2 separate regions of the Homo sapiens genome follow, and region 1 is linked to region 2. The links are contacts of gene promoters, found by promoter capture Hi-C in blood cells and fetal thymus (Javierre and others, 2016). All regions are on one chromosome and are shown on one strand. Each heading gives the region's core, a stretch centred on a gene start or on the middle of the fragment in contact. The rest is flanking DNA. Distances are from core to core; before and after follow the strand shown. Region 1 overlaps KCNIP1 (potassium voltage-gated channel interacting protein 1). Region 2 holds the start of LCP2 (lymphocyte cytosolic protein 2).

What was found. Contacts are between HindIII fragments. The CHiCAGO score rates a contact against its expected background, and 5 or more counts as called.
Region 1: a fragment that was not itself captured here is called in contact with the fragment with the promoter of LCP2 in region 2 in 1 of 17 cell types (M0 macrophages); the score reaches 6.2 in M0 macrophages.

Annotation. Positions count from the first base shown.
Region 1 is chr5:170,617,869-170,623,932 of GRCh38, forward strand. All of the region lies in intron 1 of KCNIP1 (potassium voltage-gated channel interacting protein 1), which reads left to right. It overlaps LOC124901132 (a long non-coding RNA gene), which reads left to right and starts at 724. Exons shown (of 2, transcript XR_007059045.1): 1 at 724-1,598; 2 at 1,999-2,236. RefSeq lists an enhancer at 5,697-5,991. The HindIII fragment of the contact is 6,388 bases long and covers 1,465-6,064 here.
Region 2 is chr5:170,296,297-170,301,647 of GRCh38, forward strand. LCP2 (lymphocyte cytosolic protein 2) reads right to left here and starts at 1,481. Exons shown (of 21, transcript NM_005565.5): 1 at 1,238-1,481. The coding sequence starts at 1,315. RefSeq lists an enhancer at 584-663. The HindIII fragment of the contact is 7,744 bases long and covers 310-5,351 here.

The DNA.
Region 1 (6,064 bases), core at 3,409-5,908, 320 kb after region 2:
CTATTGCACACTTACTTTTCCTTCGAGGTAGGTGAGAGAGTAAATAAGATGCAGGAGAGAATTACAACCGGAGATATAAAACAGTTGTCTTACAGGGAATAGTCTGTTTGCCCAGGGAGGAGGTTTTCAGAATACAAAGTACCATTTCTTCTCCACGACATCCCCAGGGGAGAAAGGAAAGTGAAAGAAGCCCTCCAACCGACCACTGGAGATGGGAGCATTTCTGCTGGTTTCATTTACATAAGTGTCCTTGGCAATTTGTCCCAATTTGTCTCATTATAAATGATGTAAACATCCGGGCGTAATCACAGACAAAATGGGATGGTTTAAATGCTGCCTGATTAAAAACCCTGGGTTGGCTGCAATGACTTGCAGGCATGCTAACGGCTTCCCTGCAAGGGACTTTGGTTTCAAAGTTCTGAGAGCTCAGGAGGGTCCCTAGGTCTAGTTGCAAAGTCATGTCCCCCATGACTCTGCAACTCTCCACATAGAGCCTAGCAAGAATGCATCATCTTCTCTATATCTCTTATAAGGAGGGAAGGAAGAAAGGGAGGGAAGGAGGGAGGGGGAGAGGGAGGGAGAAAGGAAAGAAGAAAAGAAAGGAAAGAAGGAAGGAAGGAAGGGAGGGAGGGAGGAAAGGAGGAAGGAAGGGAGGGAGGGAGGGAGGAAAGGAGGGAGGAGGGAGGGAGGGAGGGAGGGAGGGAGCTAACTGACATTTTCCCCTTTGCCATCTGATTGGCATGAAGGGCAATGTAACTGAGGAGTCTGGGGACCAAAGTGAATCCTAGTAATGTCACTCACTTAATATGTGTGATTTTTTAGACCAATCACATCATTTGGCCAAGCCTCAGTTTCCTAGTCTGTCAAATGGGAATGATGATTTGACATCTGGTGTGTCTCTCACTACTGTTGAGACATTATATAATGAGAGCATAGCCCTTTATAAAGACAGGGTTTCTGTCCTCTTTCTTACTTCATTCTTTCCTTCTCTTCTTTCCTTCTAATAGAAGGTATAGAGAAGACAGCACATTCCTACTGAGCTCTATATGGAGAGCTGCAGTCATGGGGGACACTGTCTAGATCTGGGGACCCTCCCAAGCTCTCAGAGCTTTGGAAGGAAGGTCCCTGCAGGGAAACTGTGTGTGTTTCTTCAACAGTGTATCCTCAGTGCCTAGCACATGGTAAGTGTTCCATAAACAGCTGTTGAAGAGACGGATGGATAACTGAATGAATGGATGCTTCCATGGGCAATGACACACTAATCTGAAAAGCCCTGTATCAATGAAAGAATCACTTAATAGTTTAACTTTTCCCTCATCCTTCAGAACACAGATGGCATGCCATCTTCCCTTCAAATCTCTTCCCAGTGCCCCACACAGAAGAGGCACACTTGGACACTGGTGTCTGATGGACCCAAGTTCACAGCCTGTCTCTGGTCATCAGGTATCATGACCTTGGGCAAGAAGCTTAACTCTCTGAGCCTCAGTTTCCCCTTCTGTCCCCCAGGGAAAATGAGTCCTGCCCCTCCTAAGGGAGGTATGAGATGTAAGACCCCGAAGGACACAAAGGTTTGCCAGGAGCCTTCAGGTAGGAGGCAGGTAAGGAGGTCTGCTAGATTGGAATGAGTTTCTGGAAGGCCCCAAGGAGCTCAAAATCAGACCTGGGGTGAAGGTGTCTTGACCAAAATGAGACCCATCAAAGAAGCCTGGATGAAGGTGCCCACAGCATCCATCAGTGCCAAAAACAGAAACACTTTAGCCCAGGATACAAGGAACATTTTAAAGCAACAGAGATAAGAGATAGTTAGAACTCAGGCCTCCTGGCTCTTGCTGTTCTTGGCCCATAATTAGTTGTTATGGGACCTTAATAAACTTCTTGCCTTCTTGGTACCTTTGCCAAACAATCTGATGAGGAGAATATTGAGTCATGGTGCCAGGGAAAATTAGCATATTCTGCAAATTCCTGGCACTGTTAACACTGGATTCTGTCCACCTTTAGAAATCCTCAGATCACTATGTCAGCATCCCCCAATCACAGCTCTCCAACTTCAAGGAGGGTTGAGGGGTCTGAAGAAGGAGAGAGAGGCAACAGAGCCAGAAACCCTTCAGAAGATGCCAAGAGCAAGGTTTGGACCCATAGTCCACCACTTACTAACTTCAAGAGTGTTATGAGCTACAAACTTCTCAGTCTCCGTTGACTCATCTCAAAAATGGAAGTAAAATTATTTACCATGCAATATGTTGTCAAAATGCATTGGGTTTAGTTCATAGCAGGTGCTCAAAGAATATCAGTTCCACTTCCCTTGTCCCTAGAGAGCCTTGTAGTGGATGTTGATGTGTCTTCCAACACATGCACCAACCTTTCCCTGTCCTGTAGCAGTTGAGATGGAATCATCCCACTCCCAGCTCCAGGAATAGGCTCTGATGGGCTTGAACCCAGCAGCTTAATTCCATTGGTTCTCTAGGCCTTCATCATTAGTACAGGAAAGGCACTTGACCTAAATTAGTTCGATAAGATTTAAGCTCAGAAATCTGGTTTGTTGGATGGAGAAAGAGATGCTTTCTTTCTCTCTGGAAGGAGTTTATTGCAAAAGTAAGGGCTGGGGCTGCTACAGCCATTGTGCTACCATGAGGGAACTAGCCATGATAACAAAACTTGCCTGGGGAGGGGCTACGCATCACAGAAAATGATGCCAAAGTCCTGCTCAAACTGTGCCTGATGCCTGCCTGATCTATGGACTTCTTAGTTCCATGTAATGGATTCTCTCTATTTTTAAAGCCGTATCAGGTTGAATTTTTGGAGAAATAAAACAAAAAGCATCTTGACTAATTTAAAAAATCTTCTTTGGGTATTCAACCCTCCTAAACTCACCCCCAAATCCACTGGGAGCATGTCAAGATTTTTGTGAGCCGATTTAGGAGATGCAAATTCATTTGCCTTAATTGGATCTCCAGGAAATGACTTCTGCCCCCTCTTAAATCATTTAAAGCTCAAAGAGGCATGAGGGCCCTCCCCAAGGATGCAGGTATCCTCTTGACTGACAGCCTGTATGCTCTGCTTCCAGGATCCTTCCATCTCCTCCCTTTACTGAGGGAGTCTGCTATGTGTTAGAGGTGTCCATCACTGGTCACACTGGGAAGCTGTGGCAGGGAAGCTGGAGAAAAAGCAAGATAGGCCCCAGAAAGAACACCAACTCCAGACTCAGGGAGACTCAGGCCAGAATCCTAGCTCAACTTCTTCCAAGCTCCCAAAGTCACACTCTTTTCTCTGAGCCTCGATTTTCCCATCTGCAAAATGGGGATACTAAGGGTCACCTAGCTGGGCTGCCCTGGAGATTCCAAGACATTAGGCATAGAAACAGTCTGGCCTAGACCCTGTAGGCCAGTAGGCATTTGATCAATGGCAGCTGTGGTTGAGATTTTTATCATCATTATGGCTGCCCTTCCTGCTTTCCAGGGCTAGTGTAGATCTAAGATTATAGGGGCTGCAACGTTCCTCAGTGGAGCAGATGCAGCAAGGTAGTAAGAGAGGGCATTCTCACTTGTCCCCACAGAGTGTGGTGTGGGGGAGATCTGTGAGCACCCCAGCAGCCATGAGGGTCAGCACTTGAATCTCTGCAGGTCAGTCATACTCCTCTTTATTATTTTTATTTTTATTTATGTATTGATTTATTGCTCTGTCACCCAGGCTGGAGTGCACTGGCACCATCATAGCTCACTGCAGCCTTAAACTCCTGGGCTCAAGTGACTCCCACTTCAGCCTCCCAAGTAGCTAGAGCCACAGGCACATGCCACCACGCCTAGCTAATTTTTCAATTTTTTGTAGAGACAGGGTCTCACTGTGTTGCCCAGGCTGGTTTCAAATTCCTAGGCTTGAGTGATCCTCCCGCCTTGGACTCCCAAAGTGCTGGGATTACAACTGTGAGCCACTGCACCTGGCCTTATTCCCTTCTTTTTATCAGTTTTCAAAGCCATCAGTATGCAGAGCACTAGGCCCAGAAATGAGAGGAGAAGAGAGATGGAACGACGAAGACCAAAACCTCTGTCCTCAAGCTGCTCATAAGCCAGTATAGAGACGTGTGGAGTCTGCTGTCCTGAGTTCCAGTCCCAGTTCCCCTTGCAAGCAGCCGTGTGACTTGCAGCAAGTCATTGAATCCCTTTGAGCCTCACTTTCCTTGTCTAGAAAACAACAAAACTGGAAATAATACTGCTTCCCTTCCAGTTTGTCAAGGATGAAGGTGCTTTGCACGGTCCCTGGAGCAAAATGTGTTCTCAATCAAGATTCCGTCTGTGGTGGGTGGAGCCGCGTCCTTCCCAAATTCATATTCACTCAGAACCTTCAAATGTGACCTTTTTCAGAAATAGCATCTTTGCAAGTTTAATTCAGTTATGGGTCTCAAGATGAAATCATCTTGGATTTGGGGTCTATCCGAAATCCAGTGACTGATGTCCTTATAAAAAGAAGGGATACAGGCCGGGGCCAGTAGCTCACGCCTGTAATCCCAGCACTTTGGGAGGCTGAGGCAGGCAGATCACTTGAGGTTAGGAGTTCAAGACCAGCCTGGCCAACATGGTGAAACCCCGTCTCTACTAAAAATACAAAAATTAGCTGGGTGTGGTGGTGAGCACCCATAATCCCAGCTACTCGGGAGGCTGAGGCAAGAGAATTGCTTGAACCCAGGAGGCAGAGGTTGCAGTGAGCCGAGATCGCGCCACTGCACTCCAGCCTAGGTGACAAGCGTGAGACTCTGTCTCAAAAAAAAAAAAAAAAAGAGTGGATACAGAGAGGCAGTGAAGAAGGCTGTGTGCAAAGACAGGCAGAGGTTAGTGGGATGCAGCGCGAGGCTAAGGAGTGTCTGGGGCCACCAGAAGCCAGGGAAGCCTAGGAAGGGTTTTCCTAGAGCCTTTGGAGGGAGCACAGCCCTGCTGACACCCTGACTTCAGACTCCCAGCCTCCAGAGCTGGGAAGGGATAAGTAGCTGTTGCTTTAAACCAGTGGTCCCCAACCCTTTTGGCACCAGAAACCGGTTTTGGTTCAGTGGAAGACAATTTTTCCACGGACAGGGTGTGTGGGGTGGGAGATGGTTTCAGGATGAAACTGTTCCGCCTCTGATCATCAGGCATTAGCATTAGTTAGATTCTCATAAGGAGTGAGCAACCTAGATCCTTCGCATGCGCAGTTCGCAATAGGGTTCATGCTCCTATGAGAACCTAATGCGGCGGCTGATCTGACAGGAGCGGAGCTCAGGCGGTAATGCTTGCTCGCCAGCTCACCTGCTGTGCAGCCGGGGTCCTAACAGGCCACAGACCCATCCGTGGCCCAGGGGATTGGCGACCCCTGTCTTTTTTTTTTTCTTTTTTTTGAGATGGAGTTTCGCTCTTGTTGCCCAGGCTGGAGTGCAATGGCACGATCTCGACTCTTCAACCTCCGCCTCCTGGGTTCAAGCCATTCTCCTCCCTCAGCCTCCCAAGTAGCTGGGATTACAGGCACCCGCCACCATACCTGGCTAATTTTTGTATTTTTAGTAGAGATGGGGTTTCTCCATGTTGGTCAGGCTGGTCTTGAACTCCCGACCTCAAGTGATCCGCCCACCTCAGCCTCCCAAAGTGCTGGGATTACAGGCGTGAGCCACCACGACCTGCCCGGGGACCCCTGTCTTAAACCACCCCAGCCTGTGATACTTTGTTATGGTGACCCTAAGAGGCAAATACACCCTCCTTTCCCCAACCTCTCCCCTCAGACGAAACCGATGCGAAAAGTGCTTCATGAAGTTTCAGGTAAAGAAGTCTGGGACGAAAAGGGATAGTGAGGATGGCGGGAGGGGCTGAACTCCAAATGGGCTTATCAAGGCTCTGCAAAATGGCGTGACGGCGCTGCCCCCTTCTGGTGGCCTGAAGACTAACGCACATGATGTCAAGTGCGGGGCCCAAGTACTCAGGAAAAGGTTCTCATTTGGACACTGGGAGGTCTTACATTGGGGGCCCTGAGCCTCCAGCCCTTCCAAATCTATTCTCAGCAGGAGCTCAGCCACACCTGTGTCCCAGAACTGAGGCCAGGCCCAGCC
Region 2 (5,351 bases), core at 231-2,730:
AATATGGCAAAAAACAGGATCTGTGAACTGTACCCCTACCATACCACACCTAGTTCAACATGTTCTCATTTTCTTCTTCAGGTTGGGGGAGAACAGCTGTGACTATAAATGCCTCGGAAATGCATAGACCCCAGGTTTGGCTATACGTCCTAGGGAACCTCGTCTACCCTCTTGAATCTCAATTTCCCCAGGAAAAACACGAAGCTGAATTAGATGACTTCTACCATCTTAGCTTTACAATCTCATCTTTATGACAGTCTGGAATATCAACAGAATCCGATGCCAGCCTGCAGGGATGAGGGTGTTAGAAGCTTAACCGTCTCGCACAAGTCATCTTACCACATGGTCAGGGTAGAGGGACTATAACTAAGTCATGTGGCTTGAGATCTGCCCAAGCAGATGCGTTGTCCCCTTCTGCCAATGACCAAGCACAGGGATCCTTCAACCTTTCCTCTAAGTCCAGAAGATAAGACAGCAACGCTCTGGTCCCAGCACCGCCACAAGCCTCTTTTCCTCTAGGGGCCTCAGTTTTCATAGCTATAAATTGGGGCTCACATCAGTTTTCTGTCCTGCTTCACAAGACTCTCATAAGGCTCCAAGGAGACTGCCCCAGGCGGGAGCTTGAGGACCCCCCTTAGGGTCGTGAGCAGTGAAAGCCCAAATGCTGTGTCTGGCACTGCTCATCATAGTCCTCTATCCAGCCCTCCCACCCTGCCTATTCTTTCTCCTGCCTCCAGGACACCACGTCTCCCCTTTCTAGTAAGTAGCGTTGATCTCATTAGCAGTTACAACAGTTCTCTGCATCTCAGAGCATGGACTTTAAAACCAGATAGGTGTGGCTTGAGTCTTGCCTCTATCACATGTAGTCCCTAGGGCTTCGGACCATTTCACTTCCCTGAGCTGATTTTGCAGCTGAGTCAAGGGGATAACAATGCTGACCTCACAACATAGTAGGGAGCGCTAAATGGGACAGTGCCTGTGAGACACCGAATTCAAACCCTAGCACATAATAGGCACATACTCATTTGAGGGCTTCTGCTCCCATCCTTCTCTCCGGAACTCATGGTCAGGAAAACTCAGCGGTCTATATGGCGCTCACTCAACCAGTAAAGTTGCCATAGGGTTCCATTGCTATCTTATACACCTCCCACATTCTGCCCCAATTCCATCGTCAAGCCTCAGCTCAGCCCACCAAGGGCACTAGCATCATGACCATTCACACAAGAGCAAGGCTTACCTTCTTGAAATAGTCAGCAAGGCTGTCGGGGTCCCAGCCCAGGACCTCTGAGCGAAAGGGCACATTCCTCAGTGCCATGGCTGCTCTCCCGGGAAGAAGCTCACAAGCTGAGCATGGGCGCTTCACCCATGGGCAGAGAAGCTCAAATCCAGAGCTCGGAGGCGTTCTTGGCTCTTCCAACTCCCAGCTACCCTGTGGAACACCCCTGTTGGAGCCGATGTCTTTTCTGGCGTAGCCAGATCCCAGAAAGCAACGGCTTCCTCTGCGAACAAATATGGTCTCTTCTCAGAAAACGACTCAGCTAGTTTCCTTTACCACTTCCTCTGCTGGGCTCTAAATAAGTAAACAAGGAAGCCCAGCTCTGGAGGCTTGAGATGCAGAGAGAGCCACAGGGTTGGTAATTCCCCACTGGCTCCAGTCACCCCAACCCAGTAGGAGAGGCAATGAAGGGGTCTTAAACTCCAATGTGAGTCTGAGTAATTTTCCTTTAAACTCTGGGCACCCATATGTCTACACTGCATTCTTGCTCAGCTGGGGCTTTGCAGACCAAAATCTATCCTGACGGTTGACCTGAAATACAGACAATTTCCCACATCAGTGAACTGCTGGAGCATGTTTTTTTAATGCTTTCCAACCACTTTCCCCTCCCACCATCAAAGACTGGGATTCTTTCAGCTGCCTCTTTACAGTTGTCATGAGAGGGTCCTCAAGGAGTGAGTGAGTCAGGCACCCAGGGCTGAACAAGGTGCTACACTGTGCAGACAGGGCTCAGTTTCTGATATGACTATTTCTGTGCTATGCAACCTTAGGCAAGGAGTTAAAAGCTGGGAATCTCAGTTTCCAAATCTGTATAATAGGAAAACAGTGATTCTTCATATGCACATAAAACTTAGATGCATTCAACTAGACAAACCTAAAAAGAAAAATTAAAAAGAAAAAAAACTTAACAATTGCTATTGGTAGTGTCATATATTCCATTCACTATTGTTTCCACAATATATTTTATTCACTATTGATTCTGCCATATATTCTAGCCAAAGAGCACATTCCCTGGAGATAGGAGGTGAGAATTTGCTGTTTTCTTAGTTTCAGACATTGTTCATTTCTCATAACTGAACAACTTATTGGCAGAGGGTGAGTCCAGTGTATAAAAGCAACTATATTTGTGCAATAAGGCAACCTCTAAACACAAGTTACTACTTCATCTAATGCCACACACACACACACACACACACACACACACACACGAGTCATCTGTTCCAAGGCTGTTGCCTTTACTAAGTGATGCTATGTTGGTCCTTGAGGTGGTGCCTTCCTGAGGGTTTTCAAGCATAGCTTTGGCCATGCACAGTTTTCTTCTTATACACACTCTGAGGAGCCCCGCCGTCACGGTAATGCACCTGCCTCACAAGCTGGTGGGCAGCTTAAATGAAATACACATTTTGCTCCAGGCCCAGCACTAGCTCATCAATGTGAGCTGGTGTTAGCCTCACCTTAGAAGGTGCTGAGGGCATCAGTGAAGGTAGCCCAGGCCATTTGCTCCTTGCAGGGCCTCACACCTAAGAACTCTTTTCTTTTCTCTCTTTCTTTCTTTCTTTCTTTTTTTTTTTTTTTTTTTATTGAGACGGAGTTTCGCTCTTGTTGCCCGGGCTGGAGTGCAATGGTGCCATCTCGGCTCACTGCAACCTCCGCTGCCTCCCAGGTTCAAGCGATTCTCTTTCCTCAGCCTCCCGAGTAGCTGGGATTACAGGCATGCACCACCACGCCCAGCTAATTTTGTATTTTTAGTAAAGACGGGGTTTATCCCTGTTGGCCAGGCTGGCCTGGAACTCCCAACCTCAGGTGATCTGCCCGCCTAGGCCTTCCAAAGTGTTGGGATTACAGGCGTGAGCCATTGTGCCTGGGCCGCACCTAAGAGCTCTTTGTAGCTGATCATTCTGTATAAAGCACAGCTCTGCTGTACAAAAGCTCCATCACGGGTGAGAGGTCACCTGGTCTTTCAAATCACTAGCATAGCAGTGAACAATAAAAAGCCATTTGAAGAGAAAGAGAGAGAGAAATCACTTTGAAGTAGAGTAAGCACAGAAGATGTCATGGAATTAACTGGGATTTAAGCAGGGCCGTGGAGGATGGAGTAAAAGGGAGGGCATTCCTGACGTGGATCAATCAATCTCTCTCTCGCTATCTCTCAAAACACATGCCACCTATGAAAAGGAACATTCCAGATCATCCTTAAAAGTAGAAGCAATTTTACTTTATTTTATTTTAATTTCTCCTTTTTATTTGCTTTTGTTTTATGTTTAGAGATGGGGCCTCCCTCTATTGCCCAGCCTGGAACGCAGTGGCACAATTATAGCTTACTATAGCCTCGAACTCCTGGGATCAAGTGATCCTCTCACCTCAGCCTCCCAAGTGGCTGGGAGTACAGGCATGCACCACCATGCTCGGCTAATTTTTTTATTTTTACTCTTTTGTGGAGATGGAGTCTTGCTTTGTTTTCCAGGCTGTTCTTGAACTCTTGGTCTCAAGCGACCCTCCCATCTTGGCATTACAAAGCGCTGGGATTATAGGTGTAAGCCACCAAGACTGGCCTAATTTTCTTAATGATGTTCACCCCACTCAGGATAAGAAAAATCTACAAAAAAGCAGTTGTAATGAAGGTATCACTAAATATTAGGCTCCTTTAGAAAGAATTATCCAATTAATGTGGCCAAGATGGAGGATCCATGGAGCTCATTTAGAAGACAGACAAAGCAGCTAAGAAACCTGGATGACAATAATGGTGACTTTGAGAAACATAAAGAGACACGATGCCTTGAGCTCTTCCTATGGTCCAGAGAGCACAAGCTAAGAACTTCTTACTGACTGTCTTAATTGTTGGCACTATTGTTGCTCCTACTCTACAGAAGAGAAAATTGAGGCTCCAAGAGGTGAACTACTTGCCCCCTGAACCCAGCAAGTAGGGAGTGAATCCAGGACTCTTCCAAAGTTGATCTGAGTCCAGAGCCCCTGTCCTTGGCCATTTGCCACCTTGAGGCTCTGAGATGTTACAGAAACTGCCTAAGGTAGACTTGGGATTCAAACCCAGTCTGTCTCCAGAGCCTGCGCAGTTTCTTCTCTGTGGCCTCTGGTGAGGAGAAAGAGAGGTTGTCAATCTGAACAAGCTCAGTAAAGGATGCAGCACTCTGCATGAGGCGGGCACTTGGTGCCCCCTCCCCACAGAACCACAGGCCCATTCCTCAGAAAGGGCAGCTGGTGCAAGGGGAAGCATGTTGCTTCAGGCCTGGAGGCTTTCCTCTTCCCCAGGCCTTGCTGATTTCCCAACACTCACGAGTTTCACATCTCCTGTCTCTGGCTGGCGGGTTCCTGAAGCTCCAGAGACCGGGCTAGTTAGCCCCCAAGAGAGACTCAGGAGACCAGAAGGACCACTGTGACCCTGTGCAGGCTCAGCCGCAGGCCCCTCACCTCCAAAATGGGGCGGCCATGAAAGCAGCCTCTGGGTACAGCCCCCGACAGCGTGGCTGCCATGACCATGGAGGCCAGGGGCAGCAGCTGGGTGTACAGCATCTGTCTGTTGGCTTCAAGCATGAAGCAGAGCAGAGGGTGGGGATCCAGTAGGGCATAGTGATTTGAAGCAGTGGTGGGGATACCCTCGCCCATGTCTGTCTCCCTCCCCCAACCAGGTGGAGAACTCCGCAGGTACGAACGAGGAACGAGGTTACAGAGGCCTTCTTAGGCTTTGTGATGCATAGCTCAAGATTTGGGAAAAGGTAAACAACCTCTGAGCAGAATAAAAACAACATTCTAGGGGCTGGGCACAGTGGGTCATGCCTGTGAGTCACGTTGTGGGTCAATCCCAACACTTTGGGAGGCCAAGGTGAGTGGATAATCTGAGGTCAGGAGTTCGAGACTGGTCTGACCCATATGGTGAAACCTTGCCTTTACGAGAAATACAAAAATTAGCCAGGCGTGGTGGCATGAGTGCCTATAGTCCCAGCTACTGGGAAGGCTGAGACAGAATTGCTTGAACCTGGGAGGCGGAGGTTGCAGCGAGCCGAGATGGCACCACTGCACTCCAGCCTGGGTGACACAGCAAGACTCCCTCTCAAAAAAA